4 separate regions of the Homo sapiens genome follow, and regions 2, 3 and 4 are each linked to region 1. The links are contacts of gene promoters, found by promoter capture Hi-C in blood cells and fetal thymus (Javierre and others, 2016). All regions are on one chromosome and are shown on one strand. Each heading gives the region's core, a stretch centred on a gene start or on the middle of the fragment in contact. The rest is flanking DNA. Distances are from core to core; before and after follow the strand shown.

Region 1 (2,700 bases), core at 12-2,511:
AAAAAATTATGAACAGTGACCATGATTTCAAGTGGTACAGTATCCTCAGTCCTCTTCAAGGAAAGCAATATAAAACCAAAAAACAGATAGTCATGGGTGATTCATGGAAAGCTGTTTTGGATCCAATGTAGCTTAGGCTGGAATTCTCTTATCTACAAAAACATGTTGCTTGAGAATGTTCCAAACTAGGGAGGATAGGAAGCTTTCTAAGAAGTAATGGAGGGTGAAGGGGAAGTAAGAGCAAAAACATGATTGTGAAGACATGAGGGATGGGGTTGGGGGGATCAAGGGAATGAGGGAATGGTTACAAAGGGTGAGGAGGAAGCTTGGAAGTAGGAATCCTCAGAAATGCACATTTTTATCCTACAAATTGGGATGATGAGGTGAGGGTGAATGAAAGGGTAAAGATAAAGTAAGCAGTATATTCATACACTCATTCAACCAATGTGTATTAAATGCCTACTAGGTGTCAAACACTTGCAGTTTAAAAGTGATTAAAAACTACAGTTGCTGCCGGTGTGGAGCTTACAATCAATGGGAGGGCAATCATTCAACAAAAATTAATTGAATACTTCCTATGTCCACCACACTGCTGTAGGCACTGATAATAAAACAGTTAATGAAAGGGATAAAAGTCCTTGCCCTCATAGGGGTAAGATGATTTACAAAAAGGAATACATAAAGTGCATTATAAGGTAGACATTAACACAGTCATCAAACAAACAAGTGTAAAACTGTAACTGGGCCAAGCAGGAATACAAGGTGGAGTGAGAGACAGTGCTAGGGACAGGGATAGGGTGGGAGGAGGGTAAAGGGAGTGAGTGCAGATGGCATGTCTGCATCCAGAGCAGATCTGGGCAGGAGGGTGTCATTCAGTGGGGAGAGCCGGGTTTGTGGGGCAGACAGCCTATGGTTGGAGACCTGGGTGACCCTCCTAGCCTCCATTTCTTTTTACCTCTTCTGACCTGAGGAAGGCTTAAGTCTTCCGGAGACGTTAGTGAATTACCGTCTGTGCAGTACACATGTGACACATGTGCACTGCTGTATGTTCAGGACACGAGGCCTGGCACCAAATAGGCCCTCGATCAAGAATAGCAAAACCTCGGAGAGAGAAGGAGCCTTGGTATACAGGTTTACCAAATACCAAGGGGATCCCACGACTCAGGTATGAGGAGGGCGACCCAGGTACCACTTTCCTGGCTCCCTAGCCCAGCTGCTCATGCTCCTCTTCCTCGTCCCCTCCCCCACTCTCATCTCCTCAGCCCGCCCGGAACGCCCGCGGGCTAGGCCACAACGGCTCGGGAACCGCCGCCGGTATCCGCGTCCGCAGCGCCGCCAGCCAGGCGAGAGCCGTGTGGGATCCCAGCGCCCGCACTCCCGCCCCCGCCAAGGAGCCAGGTGAGCCGCTGCTGGGAGACGCCTGGGCGCCGGGGGCTGCAGGTCCCAGGGCGGGGGCTGCGTCCGTCACCGGCAGGTACCCAGGTATGCCGCAGAGCCAGGCACGCCGTGGGCACTCAGTCAGTATCTGTGGAATGAATGAATGATGGTCGTCCCTGGGAGCTTATCTCTGAGGTATTGTCTCTACTTTCAAAGGCCGTGTGGATGGCAATGACAAGAGACAACAGTGTGTGCGTTTTGCAAGCTGCATCCTTTCAAATTCTCCTGTCTATATTGTCAAAAGCCCCAGAACTGACGTGCTACCTGCACCCCACCGCCTACCCCATCCATTTCCTCCTGAGGCCTGACTGCCCGGCCGTTCCTCTTCCTTTCAGACCCCACTGCTTTTGTTAATTTTGTTCCCTGTGACTGAATCCCCACCCCCACCTCCTTGCCCCTTTCTTTTCATGTCAAATGCCGTTGATGTGTCAGGGGCCCCGTGAAGCCTTCTCCAGCACCCCCACCCCAATAATGAGCATCTCTCCAACACACCATGTTACTCTATCCACATTGCATGGAAGGTGGTTGTCCTATGTTTATGTGTCCAATGGTCATCCGCTTAAGGACTGTCATCTTACTAGTCATCCCTAGCCACTAGCCAGAGTGACTAAAGGATCTAAAGGCCAGGCTCTTTGCTTATACCTTTTCTGTATTCCCAATACATTCTCCATAAAAACCTAGGTAGTAACAGGTGTAGGGTTGTTTCTGATGGAATTACAAATGCTTATTTTGAAAATTCGGAAGTAAATTTTGCCTTTCCGTGATTATAGAAAACATAAGAAAGTTAACAATATCAGGGGGAAGATATTCCTGCAACTAAACTAGCTTTCAAGATTTCATATTATTTGGGTCAATAGCTAAAAAATTGGATTGTATTTAAACTTTTTATTCTTGACTTTTTTTTTTTTTTTTTTTTTTGAGACAGAGTCTTGCTCTGTCGCCCAGGCTGGAATGCAGTGGTTTGATCTCGGTTCACTGCAACCTCTGCCTCCTAGGTTCAAGCGATTCTCCTGCCTCACCCTCCTGAGTAGCCAGGACTACAGGCACGCCATCATGCTCGGCTAATTTTTGTATTTTTATTAGAGACGGGGTTTCACCATGTTGGCCAGGCTGGTCTTGAACTCCTGACCTCAGCTGATCCAACCGCCTTGGCCTTCCAAAGTGCTGGGATTACAGGCATGAGCCACTGAGCCATGTCTGGCCTATTCTTTACTTTTAAAGCACTCTGAACACAGATAATGTAAATAATTAGATAAATGGATG
Region 2 (2,700 bases), core at 94-2,593, 170 kb before region 1:
GTTTGGTGTCATGGAACCTCTCAGCATGAATGACTCCATTTGGGGTCTGCTGTCTTTTCTTTAACACATGGAATGCCATAAGATTGTTTCAGGAAACAGTGGGTTACCCATTGACCCAAAAATGAGGGATATGAGAGAGAAGGCTGGTAAGGTAAAGTCAGAGCATGGAGACTGTTGGTTGGGTAGGGAGCTAGACATGAAGGGGCAGGAGACCCTGATGATTTTTGGAACAGGGAAATGACTTCAATAGTTCCATGCTTTAAGTTCTAGTCAGGCAAGAGAGTGTGATACGGTATGGTTTAAATTAGCTATCCAGTGTGGCTTGCATTATCTTCTGAACTTGAATTCTAGCTAGAACATTTTACCATATACTCAGTGGAATGCTAAACCAAGCAAGCATGAAAGCAAGTAGTATGTGACAAGTATAAATTGTTCAACTTGATCTAATGTCTTATCTTTTCAACCTTTAATTAGGATTTCTATTAAATCCTAAACTCTTAACTGTGAGTGAAGCCAGGACACTATAAAATATAATTCCATATTTTAGCAGAAGTACCAACCCTAAAAGTAGCCATCTTCTTGGCATAATTTTACTAAAGGGAGAGAAAATACACAAAAATAATAGCACATACTAAACTAGAACCTGCATTTTGACAAGATTTCCATAAGTAATTTATATGCATATTAAAGTTGAGAAACAGTGAATTAGAGGATTTTAGAGAATTCCAGGATTAAAATACTCTGAGAAAAAGGTAAAGTTAAAGGATTAATATTAGCTTTTGATTACTCCAGAATACCTATAATAATAAAATACATGTTTCCATTTATATGAAATTCTGGAAAATGCAAACTGCTCTATAATGATAGCAGATTGGTGGCTTCCTGGATGTGAAGGGGAGGAGGGACTATAAAGGGCATGAGGAAACTTTTTGGAGTGATAGAAACATTCTGTAAGTTGATGGCAGTGGTGGAGAAACAGGTATATATACATTTGCCAAAACTTAAACTGTACAGAGTAGCTGTCTTTTATTTTACATAAATTTTACCACAATTAAGTTGATAAAGCATACCTGTTGCAATTTTTAGACTAATCATTAACATTAAAAGAATGAAAAAATGAGGATGTAACTCACAAACTAGTACAGAGTAAAAAAAGAATAAAAAATTCGACCAACCTAAAAGAAGTCAAGGAAAGAAAAGGAAATATAGTAAAGGTGAAACAAATAGAAAACAATGAAATGATGGCAAATTTAAATTCAATTTACAATTTACATTGTACATTGTAGAAAGAGTAGTCCACAATGAGTGGGACATTTCTGGAAAAGTTTAATGATTGCATGGTTAAAATAATGTCTGGCTTGACAACATGCATTGGTCCCCACTCCCTCCCCTAACTTCAATAATGTTAGTAAAGGATAAAAAAATCCACAAGACAATGAAATCCACAAGAACAAAGAGAATGAGGGAAAACAACAGCAGGTGAGATTTACTATCTCAAGAAATTGAACTAAAGAAGTTCTAGACTTGGGGCCACCAGGAACCAATGAAGACAGCGATGAAGTGTCATACTGAAAACGGAAATTAAAGGGAATCTCTGCATACTAAATAATAAGATGCTCCCCCGAGCCCCAATCATCACCATCACATGTTCTTCCCTAGACTGATGAGGGAGGGGAAATCTGGTACAAATTGCTGGAATCTGGTGGTGCAGAAGGGGGCTAAGAGAAAATTTCATGAAAACATTTCTAGTCAGTCCATCCTTTTAGTTGAAATAAATGTTTCATAGATCAAAATTCTTAGTGGTCCTGCCTCTTCCCCCAATCACATTGCAAAACACTGGAAGCCAGGTTTATTTTAGAATTTTGCTAGTGTTTGTTTTTGTTTTTTGAGATGAGGTCTTGCTCTGTTGCACAGGCTGGAATGCAGTGGTGTGATCACAGCTCACTGCAGCCTCAACCTCCCAAGCTCAAGCGATCCTCCCACCTCAGCCTCCTGAGTAGCTGGGACTACAGGGACACAGCATCATGCCTCGATAATTTTTTTTAAGAGACAGGGTCTCACTTTGTTGCCTAGGCCGGTCTTGAACTCCTGTGCTCAAGCAGTGCTCCCAACTTGGCCTTCTAATGTGCTGGGTTCGTAGACGTGAGCCACCACCCGCAGCCAGAACCTTGCTACTTAGATTATTGTTCAAGAACCGATAGTATTGACATCTCCTGGGAGTTGGTTAAACATGTGGAATTTTAGGCCCCACTCTAGACCTACCAAACCAGAATCTGCTTTTTAAGATCTCCCTACATGTTTCATATGCATATTAAGATTTGAGAAGCAATGGATTACAGAATGTTAGAGAATACCATGATTCCTCTCTGAAGATGGAGAAAAGACCTATTTATGAATACTGGCGATGGAACATCTTCACTAAAACATCCAGCTTGTCACCTTTTGCCTTATGCTGAAGCTCACCTGGTATCAAGCATTCCCCACCCCTACCCCAACACACATAGAGTTTTAAACAGCTTTAAAAAAAACTACCTCTTAACATTGAATAAACAACCAAAAACCAACAGATATATGAAGAAAGTATCATGAAGGTCAGAATCCAAGAAAAAAGAATGGGGAAAACAATATAGAGAACCAAAGAAGTCTTAACAAACAAACAAAAATCTCTAAGAGCCTCAAAGAGTAGCTGGCTGGGGTGAT
Region 3 (2,700 bases), core at 188-2,687, 180 kb before region 1:
ACCCTTAGAACTATTCTAGCCACAAAGGTATACCTCAGTCTGTGCTCACCCTCAGCTTTGCTCCTGGAGTCTACCTATAGCCCCAAGGACCACCCTGATCCCTCACTCTGTAGACTCTGTTCCTGTGCCTCCTCCTGGCCCCTCTCCTCCCCACCCATCCAGGCCTCTCACCGTCTTCCCAGGAGAAGCGGTAAAAGTCTTCCAATTTGGGTGACTCGGGCAGGTGAGTGCCCCTCTCGGGGTCATAGCCGATGTTCTCTGCCTGCCGCCGGGCGTGCCGTAGGATGGCCCCTCCCAGGTCCCGCAGGCGGACAGCTGCTCGGTGGAAAATTGTGTCTTTAGCATTATACTTCATGCAGTTGGTAACTATAAGGTTAAAGTCCTCCTCAAACTCCTCCAAGGTGCGGTACAGGTGGGACTCCAGCTTCCGCCTCATAGTAGAAAAATCCATTGGCTTGGATATGAATTCCAGGTAATCTGGAACCTAAACATATAAAACCTGTACAATTACAACAACCATTTACTAGCCAAACAGACACACCCTTCACCAATACTCTTGGCCTCCTCAATTTCTGATTTGGCCATGCCAGGCTAACTCAAAGACCTACAGTCCTGGCCCACCCTGGCCTGCTGACCCCTCATCAAGGGCAAGTCTACTAGCTTTGCCAGACCCACCCTCCTACCCCTGGTTTTGTACACCCTGTGGCCCAACTCCTTCCTAGCCTACTCAGACCCTGTTCCAGTTCAAGAAGAATTTACTACTTGGAAAGTAGGGGGAACTTGCCTCACTCAAGTTGACTGGTTCTGCGAAGATGTGTGCAGGATCCTTCTCCTGCAGCAGGTCCAGTGTTGTCCTCAACAGAACATTGAATGGCATCAGCTCCAGCTCCATGGCAGCCTGCTGGACTTTGACCTGTGGGGAAGGTGGGGTGAGATCAGATCAGAACATCCCCTGCAAAGATGTACTGAAACTTTTTCTTGATAGTTTGACTTTTACCAATCTTGTACAACAAATTTTCATAGAATATTAAGCTGACCAGTATATGAGAAGCTATCACCCAACCTTTAGCCTAGGAATAATGACACCAACAGCTACTATTTTATTATTGTTTCCTATGTACCAAACATCATACTAAAATTTACAGTAACAATAATAATTATCATTACAATTATAATCATTAACACTTCTATAGCCCTTACTAAATGCCAGGTAATGTTCTAAGCATTTTATGTAAAATAAATGAGTATATGAGGTAGGAACAGATGAGGTATTTTACAAAGAGGAAACCAAGTAACTAAGGAACTAGGAGGAAACTAGAGGAAACTAAGTAACTGGCCTAAAGTCATAGCTAATAAGGAGCAGAGTTGGGATTCAGTCCCAGTGATTCTACAGTGAGTGCTCTTGGCCATTATGCCACACTAACTCTGTACTTGTATTACCTCAATTAATCATCACGATAACCCTGAAACAGAAATTATTATCCCCATTTTACAAATATGGATCAGAACAAGGATCACCAAGGACTAAAAGAAAAAAAATACAAATTAAAAAAATGTATATGGAATCTGAGGTTTAGAGACAGCATGATGAAGGAGTTACTAGTCTAAGGTCATCTGTCTAGAAAAGAATAGAGATAGGATTTGAACCCAGGTCTGACTTAGTCCAAGGGACACAATGATGATGTAAAATGTGCTTGAACCAGAATTTCCCAGTGTGCTGAGATACTGATTCCATCAGCCCTTGGAGCATCTGGGTCAGCATGGGGTCACCAGGGCCTCCAGGCTTGCCCCCGCAAGTGGCAAGTAGCTTCATATACTTACAGTAGTATGCTGTACAAATGCTATTTTCTACATATGCCCTAATGTGAAAAGTTGGGAAGCCACAAATTAAGACTATAGAAAATTTCCACCTTTTGGCTATATCAAAACAGGCCTGCCTACTTCCCCAGGACCAGGCCTTCTTCTCTCTCTCATTTCTCTGAACCAGAGATGAGATGAGAAGTTCAGCTGTGGGATCATGCCTGGGACAGCACAGACATTTTGAACCCTTGAAGAAGGTCCTGAGATGTCCTCCATGGCCATCCATGGTAAATATGGCATGAGCTGCCCAGGCTATGAGGAGGAAACTCAGGCTACTGGCCTGCTAGAAAAGGGGTTGTGCTAAGGCTGACCACTGAATTAGAATTTGGAGAAAGAGAAAGAAACATCTTTTTTTTTTCCCCTTTTTGTGGAGAACAGGTCTTGCTTTGTTGCCCTGGCTCATCTCAAACTCCTGGACTCAACCTATCCTCCTGCCTCTGCTTCCCTAAATGCAGGGATTACAGGCATGAGCCACTGTGCCCGGCAAGAAAGGAACATCTTTAACCCTGGCCTCTGAAGCATGTGAGTGACAGCTGCTATTCCTAGACCAGAGAGAACAGTTTTGGCTTTTCATCCACTTAATTAACAGTATTTGCTCTCTGCCATGTGCAGTAGACACTTCAGAGAAGCAAAGAGTATTGATAATAATAATAATGACAGCAGCTGACATTTCTCTGGCTGTTACTATGTGCCAGGCACTGTTCTAAGCTCTTTACATGATGAAGTCATCTAATCCTCAAAACAACCTTATGATGTAGGCTCTATAATTACCCCCATATTCCAGGTGAGAAAACCAATGTATTAAGCGATTAAAGAATTTGCTTAATGTCATACAGGTAG
Region 4 (2,700 bases), core at 40-2,539, 250 kb after region 1:
TATGATGCGATCCCTGCCCTTGAAGAGTTCCAACCACTGGGAGAGGCAGAGAAAAGACATGGCCAGTTAGGGAGATACATGGTCTGCTGAGGGTCTGACCCCAGGGTACAGGAGCTCCAAGGAGGGAAGCCTTCTCAGAGGAGGTGGCTGGAGTTGTTTTGCACCATGAGTAGGAGTTTGCCAAGTGGAGAAGAAGAAGGGCACTCCAGACAGAGGTGAAAAAACAGGTGGGGCCAGGTGTTTTTTTTTTAACCTCCCTGCCCGCTTCTCTACTTGCCAGAAGTTGCCCCATACTAGGGCCTCACCTGGGGCAAGCAGATCATGGTTATTCTGGCCCTGGGGGCACAGAAGGCTCCACCGGAGTCCAAGTCCATGAGGCAGCAGCCACTGTAGCACTCAGAGTGGTGGAAGCACCTGTCTGTGATTTTCTGTGGGGACAGGCAGAATGTCTGCCAGGCTGGGAGCAATCCCTGAGTCGTGTGGGCGGGTAGGGGAGGGTTCCCACCATTGCCAAAGAGCCCAGGGATCCAGGAGAAGTCATGAGGTTGTCACCCCTTGGGGGGCTGGTTCCCCCCCCAGCCCCACCCCGGCCCCTCAGCAGGACCCAGGGCAGCAGAGAGGAGGAGAGGGGGATTAGCACTTTTCCCTCGGCCTCTCCTTTCCTGGACCCCCCTCACCTCCATGAGTCCCATGGGGTGTGTACTCTTAAGTCCCATTTTGCGGGGCAGGGTTGGGGGATGAGAATGAAGGGGCTGCGGGCTCGAAAAAGAGGGAGAGAAAGAGGAGAAAAGGGGAGAGCCCTCGTGCCTGGAAGAATCACTAGACAGTGAGAGGAGGTGGAAGAAGAGGAGGAGAAACCAGAGCATGCAGGGTGGGTTTGCCTGTGAGCAGTTTGGGGAGGGAAGCGAGCCCAGGACTGAGGCCATCGGAAGGGGCACGGGCGGGGGAGGTGGAGGGAGCGAGGGTGCTGGTCATAGGCCAATTTCTCTCCCCTCTGAGGCCACCAGGGGAAAGTGAAGCGGCTTTTGAAGTCCGTCTGAGGATGCCCCAGGCTACCCGCCTGGGTGTGGTTCCGGACCCACCTCTCCCTTTCAGGCTGCCCGGCGCCTTCGGGCTCCAGTGCCCCGGCGGCGGGGCCACCCTCTCCTGCGGTCGCGGCCGGCTGGGCGCGCTCCCCGGCTCACCTTTTTATATTGCGGAAGCGCGCTCCAGAGGGGCAGCACCGCCCCCGACAGGACCCCCGCCACGAGCGCCAGGGCTGCGGCCATGGGCCTGGGCGGCAGAGCAGCGGCGGGGTTCCGAGGGGCCGCGGGATAAAACCTCTTCCCCGGCCACGTGACCCGGCGCCCCAGGCCACCCCGGCGGAGGAGGGACGTGGAGGGCGAGGACGCCTGCGGAAGGGAAGGAGGGAGGAAAGGCGCTCAGGCTCGCACGGGCGGGATTCCAGACTGTAGGGGCCCTGGGAGCCTCCATACGTGTTACTTCCAAGTAGAAGCTTGAAACTGTAAGATAAAACTCTATTTTTATTGTAAGATAAAACTCTATTTTATTGTATTTATTTATTTTACAGACGGAGTCTCGCACTGTCGCCCAGTGCAGTGGCGTGATCTCGGCTCACTGCCATCTCCGCCTCCCAGGTTCAAGTGATCCTCCTGCCTCAGCCTCCCGAGTAGCTGGGACTACAGGTGTGCGCCACCACGCCGGGATAATTTTAAAAATTTCTGTAGAGACGGGGGTCTCCCCATGTCGCCCAGGCTGGTCTCTAACTCCTGGCCTCAAGTGATGGTCCTGCTTCAGCCTCCCAAAGTGCTGGGATTACAGGTGTGAGCCACCGCACCTGGCCTCAAAACTTTATTTTTATAAACGGCACAAAACATATATGCTGAAATAAAAAGAGCTTCCTTCCTGATGTTGATTCTCTGTCTGCCCTTGCAGCCCCAGATTCTCCCCTTACCTTCGGGATAATCCAGCCCCACCCTCTGGGCTGCTCACACCCGCTGCAGGCCCCATTCTCCTCTTCTGTAAGAACCAGGAGGTGGGACAAGATGGTCTCTAAGTCTTAAATCTCTTGCAGTCTTAATCATTCTATTAATTGTCTAAGGATTTGTCTGTGAATTGTGTGAAAGTCAAGATGTGGGGGCAAAATGGAGAAGTGGGAAGAGAAGAAAACTCAGAATAGGGAGGAGGGTTAAGGGAGAGCTAGAGCTGCACAGAGCAATCCTGGAACCGGGGGAGGCAGGCCTTCCTCAGGACTTCCCTATGGATGAAGCTTCCACCTCACCCCACCTGCCTGCTTCTGCTTTTTTTTAATTTCTATTTTTTTTTAATTTTGTATTGTTAATATTTGTTATAGAGACAGGTTGTCCTTATGTTGTCCAGGCTGGTCTTGAACTCATGGGCTCAAGAGATTCTCCTGCCTCGGCCTCCCAAAGTGGTGGGATTACAGACGTGAGCCACCACTCCCAGCCTGCTTCTGCTTTTGAAGTTTCGCTTAAGAAATGAACCGAGGAATCCTGTCTTGGTGGGGAATAACAGCCAAGAATAACAGCCCCCACCGCACTCAGAGGGCCTTGTATCCATTATTTCCGTGAGCCCTCCCTGTATTAACACTAGCTGTCACAGAGTAATTAACACTGGCTGTAACAACAGAACTCCTGGAATTTCGTGGCTTGGCACAATAATGCTTTATGTACAGTCTGA

Evidence for each region. The method cuts DNA at HindIII sites, captures the fragments that hold promoters and counts their contacts. A CHiCAGO score of 5 or more calls a contact.
Region 2: a contact is called between a fragment that was not itself captured here and the fragment with the promoter of SLC26A8 in region 1, in 1 of 17 cell types (neutrophils). The highest score is 5.3, in neutrophils.
Region 3: a fragment that was not itself captured here is called in contact with the fragment with the promoter of SLC26A8 in region 1 in 3 of 17 cell types (naive CD4 T cells, naive B cells and total CD8 T cells); the score reaches 5.7 in naive CD4 T cells.
Region 4: a contact is called between the fragment with the promoter of CLPSL2 here and the fragment with the promoter of SLC26A8 in region 1, in 15 of 17 cell types (activated CD4 T cells, M0 macrophages, endothelial precursors and 12 more). The highest score is 13.3, in activated CD4 T cells.

What each region holds. Positions count from the first base shown.
Region 1 is chr6:36,023,202-36,025,901 of GRCh38, reverse strand. SLC26A8 (solute carrier family 26 member 8) reads left to right here and starts at 1,261. Exons shown (of 20, transcript NM_052961.4): 1 at 1,261-1,398. RefSeq lists enhancers at 815-1,314, 1,315-1,816. The HindIII fragment of the contact is 10,062 bases long and covers 328-2,700 here.
Region 2 is chr6:36,189,014-36,191,713 of GRCh38, reverse strand. The region is part of intron 1 of BRPF3-AS1 (BRPF3 antisense RNA 1); the gene reads left to right. Among named protein-coding and RNA genes, the nearest start is that of BRPF3, 6.4 kb to the left of the region's middle. The HindIII fragment of the contact is 8,919 bases long and covers 1-2,700 here.
Region 3 is chr6:36,208,000-36,210,699 of GRCh38, reverse strand. BRPF3 (bromodomain and PHD finger containing 3) reads right to left here. Exons shown (of 13, transcript NM_015695.3): 5 at 785-913; 6 at 172-484. Among named protein-coding and RNA genes, the nearest start is that of BRPF3-AS1, 12 kb to the right of the region's middle. The HindIII fragment of the contact is 3,023 bases long and covers 1-2,700 here.
Region 4 is chr6:35,775,187-35,777,886 of GRCh38, reverse strand. It overlaps CLPSL2 (colipase like 2), which reads right to left and starts at 1,289. Exons shown (of 3, transcript NM_207409.4): 1 at 1,185-1,289; 2 at 306-428. The coding sequence starts at 1,268. RefSeq lists a silencer at 1,179-1,308. The HindIII fragment of the contact is 8,503 bases long and covers 1-1,497 here.